Regions from separate parts of the Homo sapiens genome. Here regions 2, 3 and 4 are each linked to region 1. The links are contacts of gene promoters, found by promoter capture Hi-C in human tissues and cell types (Jung and others, 2019). All regions are on one chromosome and are shown on one strand. Each heading gives the region's core, a stretch centred on a gene start or on the middle of the fragment in contact. The rest is flanking DNA. Distances are from core to core; before and after follow the strand shown.

Region 1 (2,826 bases), core at 156-2,655:
CCATATTGCACCTAGTACAACAGATGTACCTGTGGATCCACTGGGCTTTTATTGGGTTTTGGGAATACTGATGTTATTTCACTTAAAAACTAATCCAAGCTTAATGTTTTGATGAAAATGAAAATATATCCACAGGGAAGCAAATATCCACAGCCACCCAGTCCTCTAAATGCCACACACATCTCATTTTATCTAAAGTGTTTTTTCTTCCCTTCCAATTACAAAATAATTCAGTTTACTCCTAGGAAGATCTTCCTATTCACTGTTTTTAGTCATGCTAGCACATCTTCGGTTTTAAGGATAGAGAACAGTTAGGAGTTACAGTATTCTGTTTCCCATTCTCCGCATGTTTCTCCCCAACCCTCACTTTTCCTCCCTTTCGTGTTGTCTCCTCTCCTCTCCATGCAAAGCAGAACAAGAAGACTGCCTTCCACAAAGACAATAGGCTTTTCCCAACTGTAAATGACTACATCACAAGCCGCACCTGTCAGTTAATCAGTGCATTTAAGTCTTTGCCAGCGGATGTTGAAATGATGTCTGCAATAACTGACTGGGTTTCTGCGAGCCCAGGGATGCAGACCCCTCCTTCCCCCGCCCCCCGTGCGAGTTTCAGTCGCTAATGAAAACCGTATGAAACAGATTCCCCTTCTGTTATGTAACCGGCTTCTCCCTCGCCTTTCGGCTGACTTGGGCACAATGTTTCTCATGAGAGTGGAGATGCCTGCGGCGACGGCGGAGCTGGGGAAGGGGACGCGGGGACCCGAGAGCACGGAACGCCTCGCCCAGGTGGACGCCAGCTCCTCGCCTGCGAGCAGCTCAGCGCACCGCTTACCTGGCTGCGGACGGGGTGGCTTCACTCAATCATGATCTCCTCTCTTGAAACGGAGCAAGACTGAACAATTCACTACACGACGGATGGCGAGGGAAGGAAATGCAAAAAAGAAAAGGAAAAGAAAAAAACTGGAATCAGATGGTCAAATTTCACATCAGCACCGAGAGGCTGTTAGGAGACTCCATTCTGCTCGCGGCTGCTCCGGCTCCAGGTCCGGCTTCCCGGCGTCCGCGGGTCTCCACCCCTCCGCCCGCCCAGCCTCTCCAGCCAGGTGCGGCCGTCTCCGGACTGGCTCCCTCTGGCCGAGCGCGGAGAGCAGGGCTGGGCGCTGGGGCCAAGGGAGGGGCGGAGGGGCGCGCGTTTGGGCAGGGACGGGGGAGGGAGACTGGGTGGAATGAAGTGGGGAAAGATAAGAGTGGCAGAAGAAAAAAAAAATCCCCGGTTAGGAGAAAAGTGGTGGACCACGCAGAGAGACGTCATGAAATCCGCAGATTCAATGAATGCTACTCAATTCCAGCCGACTGGCTGAGCCCCGCTGGCAGCGCACGAAGCGACGCGGCTCCGAGATAAAAGCGAGTGCAGCGCCGCGTGCTGGGGAAAAAGCCGCACAGCGCCGGCGCGGTCCGGGAGGAAGGGGCGGGGGCGAGCAGGACAGAGCCACAGACCCAGAGACGCCCACCCCGCCGCCCATGCCAGCTAGCGTGTCAGCGCGTCGAGGACCGGGCTTGGTGGGGGCGGGCTGGGCACAAACCAACGTGCATCCCCCGCCACTGGAAACGTGGGTGCTCCATGCTGGGGGAATCTTTTGGGTTTCGGTCCCCGACCCCCCAGTCCCAACCTTTCTCCCAGTGCCACTAAGTAAGTTATTCCCGGAGAAACGCCTGGAAAGCAGGAAAGAGCCGAAGCTCGGGGAGCAGTTTTGTCTGCTGGTTGTAGGGGTTCGGCTTTTAGGGTTTTGTGAGATAAGGAAAAAGAGGCTCTGGGCACTGCCTCCCACCGGGCTGAAATCCGTGAGAGGCAGCCCCGGCGCGGGAGCCGGAGCCTGCACCGCCCAGAGGGGGCGCAGCGAGCGGCCGGGACGGAGGGGAGGGGCCCTATCCCTGAGCTTTGCTTGCACCTGGTGGCGCCCCAGCCTGCTGCCCCATTCAGTCCCTTCTGTCCTGTCCACTGCAACTGGGACCTGGTCCCGGCTGCTGCATCATCACCCCATCCTTATATGATGTCTCTGGGGTCACTGGAGACAAAGAATGGCCTTTTCCAAGAATGACCCAGGCTGCCTTCAAAGTTGAATTTGTCAGGATAAGCCCCTTAGACAAAGGTCTACTCCACTCTTTGAATCTAACTTGCTTTGTGCTGTTATTCCAGGGGCCCCTCATAGTGCTCCCCTCTTGCACCCCCTCTTTTTCTTATGGTCATCAAAAACAATGGTTCTACATTTCCAAAGTCTTCCCATAAATTGCTTCTACCTATGAACAGAACTCTCTTTTATGCTGTCTTTTTCCTAGGGATGAATGGATTGACAAATTGTAAGAGTAGCGAATACCATTGGCTAGTAATTTTATAATGGCCCTTTCAATAACTGGCTATTCTTGTGCTGCTTTATGAAGTGGCTTTCCTTCCACAAGGCACAGAATCTCTACCTCAAAGAAGGTGACCTTATTTTAGAGAGAAGGCTTACGGAAACCTCTTATTTCCAAGATTATTTTATTCTACATACATACATTTTAATTACCTAGCAATTCAGGTCCCCTCAAGAATGCTGTCTGCCCTCTAAAAATGACTGTAATATGGAGAGGTGTTTGTGTCAATTTGCATCCAAAGTCATGTAAAAGTCAACCGTACACACGGCCTGTGAGCTTGTATTTGCTGTTGATTTTCCCTAAGAGGTTGTAATCTGACTTGCTATTACTTCTGAGTCATATATCCCATATACAGAAGATATGAGTATGTGTAATATCTGTAGTATGTGTAATACGTGCTCCACAATGCCTGCT
Region 2 (2,826 bases), core at 102-2,601, 240 kb after region 1:
ATAGTATGAAATCAATTATGCAGAGGAAAAGTACTTGACTATTGATAGGAAGAAGGAATGCTGTATTAGGAGTCAGGAGACATAGCTCAGTACTTACTCAGTATGTGACTTTCAACAAACAATTGTTCCCCTCTAAGCCTCAGTCTCCTGAGTTGTAAAATGAAAGAATGACACTGGATCCTGTTTCTAGGTTCCTTTGCACTTTCAAAATCTTTAAGAATCTTTTGTTGTTGTTGACAAAAGGATTTAAAGAGTAGGGACAAGTGACCATCCATAAGTGATGAAAAGAAAAGTTAACCCAAGAGATACATAAAGTGGGGAAGCAGCAGAGTTACAGTTGGAGAAACCAGGGAGTGAAGTCGAGGTGTGCCACATTCCCTCTAGATGACTCTTGAAGGGTTGGGTTTCTCTTCTGTAAAACAGAGACCATAGCTCAGAGGTTTGTTATAAGGATTAAATGAGATAATGCATAAAACATGCTTCCAGGAATAAAGAATCATGGAAGTGAATAAGGAAGAAAGGAGATGGAGGAAGAGGAGGAAGAGAAAATGACTTAGAAAATGTGTGATTAACTAAGTAATTAATCCTTCTAAAACTTTCACATTCAGCCAAAGCACATTTGTGCATACAACTCTCATTTGTCTACCTTGGAATAATCAATTTTGTGAGTTATTCACAGAAGATGAGTGAACTCAGCCAGGTTTTCTAATACTCTGCTACCTTCTTGTTCACCTATTTTCTGACTAGGAGGCATGTAACTCAAGTTTTCATCAGCCTAAGCCCAACCACATTTTGGAGACATGTCTGCATCACAAATTATCTTGGGCTTTCAAAAATCAAAAATAAACCACTTTACCAAAAATCAATCCCACTCCATCACTTTGGTTTCTCTGTGCCTTGTGCGCCATTATTGGCATGAGGAGTTGTGAGCTAACCGTGCCACATTTTCAGGAGCCTTTGTGCCATCCTGTTTCAGCCCTTGACAGGTGCTCCTGCGGGGTTCTCAAGCTTTCCTTTTGATTTCCCCAGGATATTATCATTGTGGCTGGTCAAGGGAGGGGACATCCTGAGAAAATCAGCCAACAGTTCCTCCTGGAAAATCCAAGCTCTCTGATTAGAGGGGCAAGAAATCCAACTGATATGTATTTAAGCACTTTTATAGAATTCCCGCTATGTGCCAGGTGCACATAGTTCCTAGGTAATAGGATGCAGCAGCCAACTAGCTGACCAAGTCCTCTTGAAGCTAACATTTTAGTGGAGAATGTAGATAACCCCTCAAAAAATTAATAAAGAAGAAATAAAATTTTTGATAATGGGATGTATTATGAAGAAAAATAAAAGCAGGGGAAGGGGCAGTGAAAGTGATGGGGTGGTCTGGAAAGGTCGATCTGAGGAGGTGATTTTTGAGATCTGAATGCAGTGGGAGAACAAGCCATGGGGAGGAATAGAGAAAAAGCAATGGAGGCACAGAAAATATTAAATACACAGTGGGTGGAAACAAACAATTAACTTGGCCAGTGCAGCTGGAACAGGGTAATGGTTGAAGGACGGAGCCCATTCAGGTAGGCAAAGGTTGGAGTTTCAAGACCTTGTCAGCTAAAGTAAGGGGTTTGGATCTTATCAGAATTGAGATGGTAATCTATTGAATGGTTTTGAGTTGGAGAATGATGCAACTTATTTGCATATTAAAAAGATTACTCTGACTAACATATTGATAACAGACTGTCATGAGACCAGAGTGGAAGCTGGTTAGTAGATGACTGAAACTGTTTAGGAGAGAGAAGACCGTGCATTTCACTAGAGTAGTTATAGCAGGGGTAGTGTAGAATAATGGGATTCAGTACATATTTTGGAGAAAAATCCAGCCTGACTTTTCGCTGTGTTTATGTGGGACGTAAAGGGAAAGAAGGAGTCAAGGATAACTGCTAGGTTTCTGTTTTTAGCGACTGGGTAAATGGTGGTGGTGTTAACTGAGGAGATGAGGTGCTGTATCAGTGAGGACTCATGCAGGAAAAAAGGAACCACTCCAGGTGTATTAAGTATGAAGTGGTTTAATAAAGGGAATCGAGTGCTTTCAAAAGCATTGGATTAGCTGAGGAAACACAAGTTAGAGAAGGTGCCCGGTAGTATTTAGTTCTGCTGTCACTGCTTGGGCCAGTGAATTCAGAAGTTGTTGCTACCACTCAGATGAGGAAAGTAAAGGAAAACTAGTGCTGCCCTACAGCACTGAGAAGAGTAACTGGAATGGATCACCCAGAAGCCACCGCAAAAACTCTTGTCTGCCAAAGCTTTCGTGTCCTACATTGATGCATGGGGAAGAAGAGTATGTTCTGTGCTCTTTCATCTTTGAAATCTCTCACTAGTGCACCTCATTAGCAGAATATAGCTGCAACCAGAAACTGAAAGGCAGAAGAATCTGACAGATAAAGTTTCCAGCCTTTCAGCTGGCATTGCAAAAGAAAGCATATAACACAGGACAGAGGAGAGCAATAGAATCTTGTAGGCTAAGGGACAGATAATAAAATATTTGTATTGTTATGTCATAAATCTGTGTGTCTATCGGACATCCAAGCAGAAGTGTCAAGTAGGAAGTAGAATACACAAGTCCAGGAATCATGGGAAAGGTCAAGGATGGAAATATAAATTGGGGAGCCATTAGAACATAAATGGTAATTAAAGGCATGCAAGTGGAGAGTATTACCTAAGGAGTAAGTGTAGATAGAGAAAGGTCTTAGAACTGAGCTCCATATGCTTCGGGAAAAACTTGGACATTGGGGAAATTAGGAAGCACTTCTAGGGTTAAAAGGACTGAAGGCCGTGCACGGT
Region 3 (2,826 bases), core at 122-2,621, 200 kb after region 1:
TACCATTTTGCATTCCCACTAGCAATGAGTAAGAGGATCTGCTGCACAACATTCTCATCAGCATTTGGTGGTGTTTATGTTTGGGATTTTGGTCATTCTAATGGGTGTGTAGTAATATCTCGTTTTAATTTGAAAGTCTCTAATGATGTTGAGCATCTTTCCACAAGCTTATTTTCCATCTGTATATCTTCTTTGGTAAGGTATCTGTTGAGATCTTTTGCCTATTTTTTAATTGGACTGTTTGTTTCTTACTATTGAGTTTTAAGAGTTCTTTGTATATCTTAAATACTAGCCTGCATCTGACATGTGTTTCACAAAATCCTCCCAGTCTATGGCTTATTTTTTCATTCTCTGAACAGTGTCATTTACAGAACAGAAGTTTGAAATTTTAACAAAGTCCAACTTATCAATTTTTTTATGGATTGTGCTTTTGGATTTAAGAAGTCATTGCCAAATTCAAGGTCATTGAAATATTCTCCTATTTTACCTTCTCAGCATTTTACAAGATATATTTTTAATTAAAAACAAATAGATGCTCTGAATCAGTCATGGTCCCCACAAGGATTTTTAATAGAAACTGTAAGGAAAAGACAACTTACAATGGGCTTGGTAAGGTTAAGGAAATATATAAGGGATAATGCTTGCAACCATGATAAGCTGTCATCACCCAGGTCAAAAGGAAAAAAGGGAGGAGCTAGTGCTGGGACCCAGTGTGGAGGCTATGGTGAAGAAGCTATTATTGTGAACTCCACTACTACTATAGGTTTCATACCTAGGCAAGAAGAGCATGTAGTCCTCATAAGTTGATAGATATAAGAAAGGGGGCTGGGCGCGGTGGCTCACGCCTGTAATCCCAGCACTATGGGAGGCTGAGGCTAGCGGATCATGAGGTCAGGAGATCGAGACCATCCTGGCTAACACGGTGAAACCCCGTCTCTACTAAAAATACAAAAAAAAAAAAAATAGCCAGGCGTGGTGGCAGGCACCTGTAGTCCCAGCTACTCGGGAGGCTGAGGCAGGAGAATGGCGTGAACCCGGGAGGCGGAGCTTGCAGTGGGTCGAGATCGCGCCACTGCCCTCCAGCCTGGGCAGTGAGAGCAAGACTCCGTCTCAAAACGAAAAAAAAAAAAAGGAGCCCTAACTGGCAGGAACAGGAGCAAGGATGGGGGAGAGCCATCATTCTAAGAAATGGCTGACAAGCCATCGTTCTGAGAACTGGTTAACCAACAACAACCCACTTGCACAACACCCTGTTCCCAAATACCTTGTTTTGCACATAGACCCAGCAGCATGACCTTATCAGCACGTACCCTCTCCAGCACAAGCCTATAAAACTTCCCTCCAGCCCCTGACTCTTCGAGACAACCTCCTCTCTGCTGTGCACCTCATTGTTCTCTTGCAGTGTATCTTCGTACTTTCTACAATAAATCTGCCTTTCTTTATCCATGACTGTCTTGGTAAATTCTTTCACTGCCTGCAATGCTGGACCCAGCCAGTCACACCAGCAGCATTTTGGTGGTCCATATGGAGACCTCTCCCCTGTTCACTGTTTTTTCTCTTCTCCAACTCCAACCTCTTAGTGGACAGCATCCAAGCCTGGAGACATCTGATGGCCCCCCACTGCAGCTACTCCCTGGTGGATCAGAAGGTCCCAGTGGAAAGAAGTTTGACCGTCACTGCCCGATCGAGTGAGAGTTTAGAGTTTACTTTCCTTTCCCGTCTTCTGGTGGACAAACTCTAGTATCCCTCTAGCAGCTGATGGCCACTGGCCAGGGCCATTCCCTGGTGTGGCCTAAAGGCCAAGGAGTGAACCAGGTTTGGCTGCCTTGCTTGGAAGGGAGGATGGCTCTCTCCTAACCCTTCTGGTCAAAAGTCCCCAGTCCCTACATGCAGCACAATAGGCAGCGGCAGCTTGACCAGGGCAAACGCACACACATTTTGGGGAACTCAGACCCCGTCCTTCTCACTCTAAATTTCTCCTGTGAAGAAAGCCAGCCATCCTTTTCTGGACATTTTAAGCAACATGATCCCAAATAGCACCAGAACAGTGAGCCTTCCCTCAACCTTTGCCCCTTATACCTGGATTCAGCACCCAGTATAATTCATACGTGGACTGACCTGGGGCTGCTCACCCTGTGTTCATCCATCCAGTGTAAGGCTCTCATGCTGGGAGGTCCTTTCTAATAGGTGGGATGCCCCTTTGGAAAGTGCCTCTCAAGGCTCCTCAGTGGACATAAGTGGAACCCCCTTTCCTTGGCTGGAGGCCCCAAGAGAAATTGTGGTTTGTGTCCCCAGTAGACATTATTTTCCAATCCCCCCATGGGACAAAGCCCTTCCATTCTCTCAGACTCACCGATGGGCTGCATTCTAAAACATTGGGATAAACTTGACTCCCAGACTCTCAAAAGGAAACATCGAATTTTCTTGTGTAATACAGCATGGCCACTTTATAAACTTCCAGATCAGGAATCCTACTGGCTTCCAAATGGGACCTCTGCCCCCAGTAGTATTTTATAGGTTGACCTCTTTGGTCATAATTCTTCTAAACGGCTTGAGATTCCTTATATCTGAGGTTGTGTAACTCTTTCTAAGTTTGCTCTCCTCTCCCTTACATGGTTCCTTCCTTTACTAGGACAGCTGCATTTATACTTCTACTTCTCCTCTTCAGTCCTTTGTCTCTTTAATTTACTGGTTAAATTTGTTTCTTCCAGAATGTAGCAATTCCACAGCAAACTCCTAATGATGCAAGGATATCAGCCAATCACCCTCAGAAAACCCCATGAATCTCCTCTAGACTCACTAGATATCAATTCCATATTAACACGC
Region 4 (2,826 bases), core at 125-2,624, 130 kb after region 1:
AGAGAGCTCATTGTTAAACACGGACACTTCTGGCAGTATTCCTGCTAATCCATCCCTGTTCACTGTGTCACTGTGCCAGCATCATGTGGACATAAGAATGGATGCCATAGCTGTCCATTATTTCTGACATCATGGCAATATGTTGGGTGGAAAATAGTAGTTATTTCTTCAACACGTGAAGAATAATCATCAATAGTATTATTCCAGCAAGAGATTTAGGTGAGGTGGAAAAGGATTGGCCCACACTTCTCTGCCCTTCTCTCCATGGCATAAATAATGGTGTGTTCCAGGGAAATTGTTTGAATGCCGCAGGGTACTTCTGGAAACCTAAACTTCTGAAATAATGCTGCATAACTTCAGAGGTGGGTAAGAAAAGGCCATGCTGAGATTGACTTGCTAAAGAAGTTACACGTGGGTGTTCTGGCTAACAGCCCAGCTGACCTGGCTGCAGCCACATGTAAGAGCTACCTTGAGCATCCAGCTTAGTTGAACTTTCAGGCCCCACTGGCAACTGACTGTTTCCATACAAAAGACTCCAAACCAGAACTGCCTAGCTGAGTCTTTCCTGAGTTCCTGAACTACAAAATCACAGGAAAAATAAAATGGCCACCATTTTAATCCTCTGCATTTTGGAGTAACTTTTAAACTTGGCAATGATGATTGAACTGATGCTTTAAAAATTAAAATGTAAGTATTGTAGAAATAAAAACATTAGAAGAAAATCTAGGAGACTAAAAATACAATCTAGGAATTCAGGAGATTTTAAGTGAGTTAAAATATCCAGACTGGATTTATGTAGATATATACACGTATATGTATTTATTATATGTATATACACACATGTATGAAAACATATATGTGGCCAGGTGCGGCGGCTCACGCCTGTAATCCCAGCACTTTGGGAGCCCAAGGTGGGAAGATCACGAGGTCAGGAGTTCAAAACAGCCTGGCAAACATGGTGAAACCCTGTCTCTACTAAAAATACAAAAATTAGCTAGGCGTGGTGGCATGGGCCTGTAATCCCACCCACTTGGGAGGCTGAAGCAGGAGAATTACTTGAACCGGGAACCTGGGAGGTGGAGCTCGCAGTGAGCCGAGATCAGTGAGCCGAGATCACGCCGCTGGACTCCAGCCTGGGCTACAGAGTGAGACTCCGTCTCAAAAAACAAAACAAAACACAACAAAAAACCATACATACATATTTAACATATATTTGATATCATAAAAAATTAAAAACTTTATAATGATATCTATTATAATCAGATTAAAGGAGCTATGGATTTGGAAAAATATATACTCAAAAAAGCCTTAGATTAATAAGAAAATAATGAAATAGAAAATTGGGCAAATAATATGAATAAGAAGTTTACAGAAAATCCAACTCAAAGAAGCATCAAATATAAGGGTAAAAATACTCAAATTCACTAGCAGTTAAAATAATAAGACACAACTTTAGATTGCCCAACAATAGAAATGAAGAGCCCCTATATGGTTGAGAATGTGAAGTGGGTACACTTGACATAGCCAATGGAAATATGAGTTGGTCCATTCTCTTTGGATCAAGATCTGGTGAGATCTATTAAAATTAAAAACCATATGCTCTTTAATCACCAAGCCCAGTATTAGGAAACTATCCCAGAGACAAAAGCTCACTACGTAGGGACAGAAGTACACAGATAGTTAATGTAACTTTGTCTCAAGACATGAAGATCAAGTGAATGCCCATTAAGCAAGAAATGGCAGAATAAGCTATGGGTATAAGCACAATGTGAAATCGTATGCAGTTATAAACTATTAAAAAACCAGTAAGGGCAATGGCAGTTGACTTTCAGGAAACCAACTCCAAGTGTCATTGCTGAATGAGAAAAGCAAGGTTCGTGGGTGTGTGTACAATGTGATTGCATTCAAAGCAAAACAAAGACCATGAAACAACTGTGTACGTGTTTGTATATGATTAAATGAACATGGAGAAAAACACATAGGGAGATATGACGGGGTGGGAGAGGCAAGCAAAAAATGTAAAGTGTACACTGAAAATACTAAGCACATACAGTATGACTACCTTCATATAGAATTACGTATGTGTATGCAGATGCATAAGTGAGGAGATAAAATATAGATCTATATTCACTTACCAATTAAGAGTTTTTGATATATTCATTGAAAACCAGTTTGAGAAAGACAAACAAAAATCCTGAAAATGTGTATAAATACTTGTAAATGATTTATAGGAAAAGGAAAAACTGTGGCTGAAGAATGAGCTATTAACATTAGGCCCCCAGGATGGTGAAGCTGGAGAGCAGTCTGGGGAAGAAGATTCGCTTAAAAAAAAATCTTTGCATTGCTCTAGTTACTCCAACAATTATGCATTACTTCTGCTATTTGAAAAAGTAAATCCAATGCCAAGACTTTGAGTATTGCCAACTTTCCGTAGCTATTGGTGACATTGCCTGTTTTATAGCCTGCCTCTGGTGACAGTAAATTGAATTTTGATCAGGTAAAAACCAAATTTAAGCCTGCTCTGTGCACCTGTCAATTACTTGCTTGAAATGCTTTAAATCACTTTGCTTGAAATGCCCCCTGACTTCTGGGGTCCAGTTATACTTGTGGCCATTGGTAAAGGGTGACTTTCCATCCGCTTTTCCCTGGCTGAGATTGACCATGGCGTCAGTCCTCGTGTGGTCTCCCTGAGATTGGGAGGGTCCTTCCATGTCCCTCAGTCTTAGCCTGGGCTCTTTGTTCTGGCTGAAGTTGGCATTCGGGTCAGGCACCTTTCAGGCTGACATACATATTATATTAATCCATCCATCCTGCATGTGGATGGGG

What was found. The method cuts DNA at HindIII sites, captures the fragments that hold promoters and counts their contacts. A contact is called where the count stands out against the background at its distance.
Region 2: a fragment that was not itself captured here is called in contact with the fragment with the promoter of KCNJ6 in region 1 in 4 of the 25 tissues and cell types used here (H1 embryonic stem cells, IMR-90 fibroblasts, mesendoderm cells and 1 more).
Region 3: a fragment that was not itself captured here is called in contact with the fragment with the promoter of KCNJ6 in region 1 in 2 of the 25 tissues and cell types used here (dorsolateral prefrontal cortex and mesenchymal stem cells).
Region 4: a contact is called between a fragment that was not itself captured here and the fragment with the promoter of KCNJ6 in region 1, in 2 of the 25 tissues and cell types used here (stomach and thymus).

What each region holds. Positions count from the first base shown.
Region 1 is chr21:37,915,052-37,917,877 of GRCh38, forward strand. It overlaps KCNJ6 (potassium inwardly rectifying channel subfamily J member 6), which reads right to left and starts at 1,406. Exons shown (of 4, transcript NM_002240.5): 1 at 833-1,406. The HindIII fragment of the contact is 8,322 bases long and covers 1-2,826 here.
Region 2 is chr21:38,151,071-38,153,896 of GRCh38, forward strand. The region is part of intron 2 of DSCR8 (Down syndrome critical region 8); the gene reads left to right. Among named protein-coding and RNA genes, the nearest start is that of DSCR8, 31 kb to the left of the region's middle. The HindIII fragment of the contact is 5,317 bases long and covers 1-2,826 here.
Region 3 is chr21:38,111,923-38,114,748 of GRCh38, forward strand. All of the region lies in intron 2 of DSCR4 (Down syndrome critical region 4), which reads right to left. Among named protein-coding and RNA genes, the nearest start is that of DSCR4, 8.0 kb to the right of the region's middle. The HindIII fragment of the contact is 4,550 bases long and covers 1-2,826 here.
Region 4 is chr21:38,048,478-38,051,303 of GRCh38, forward strand. No RefSeq gene overlaps it. Among named protein-coding and RNA genes, the nearest start is that of DSCR4, 71 kb to the right of the region's middle. The HindIII fragment of the contact is 5,383 bases long and covers 1-2,826 here.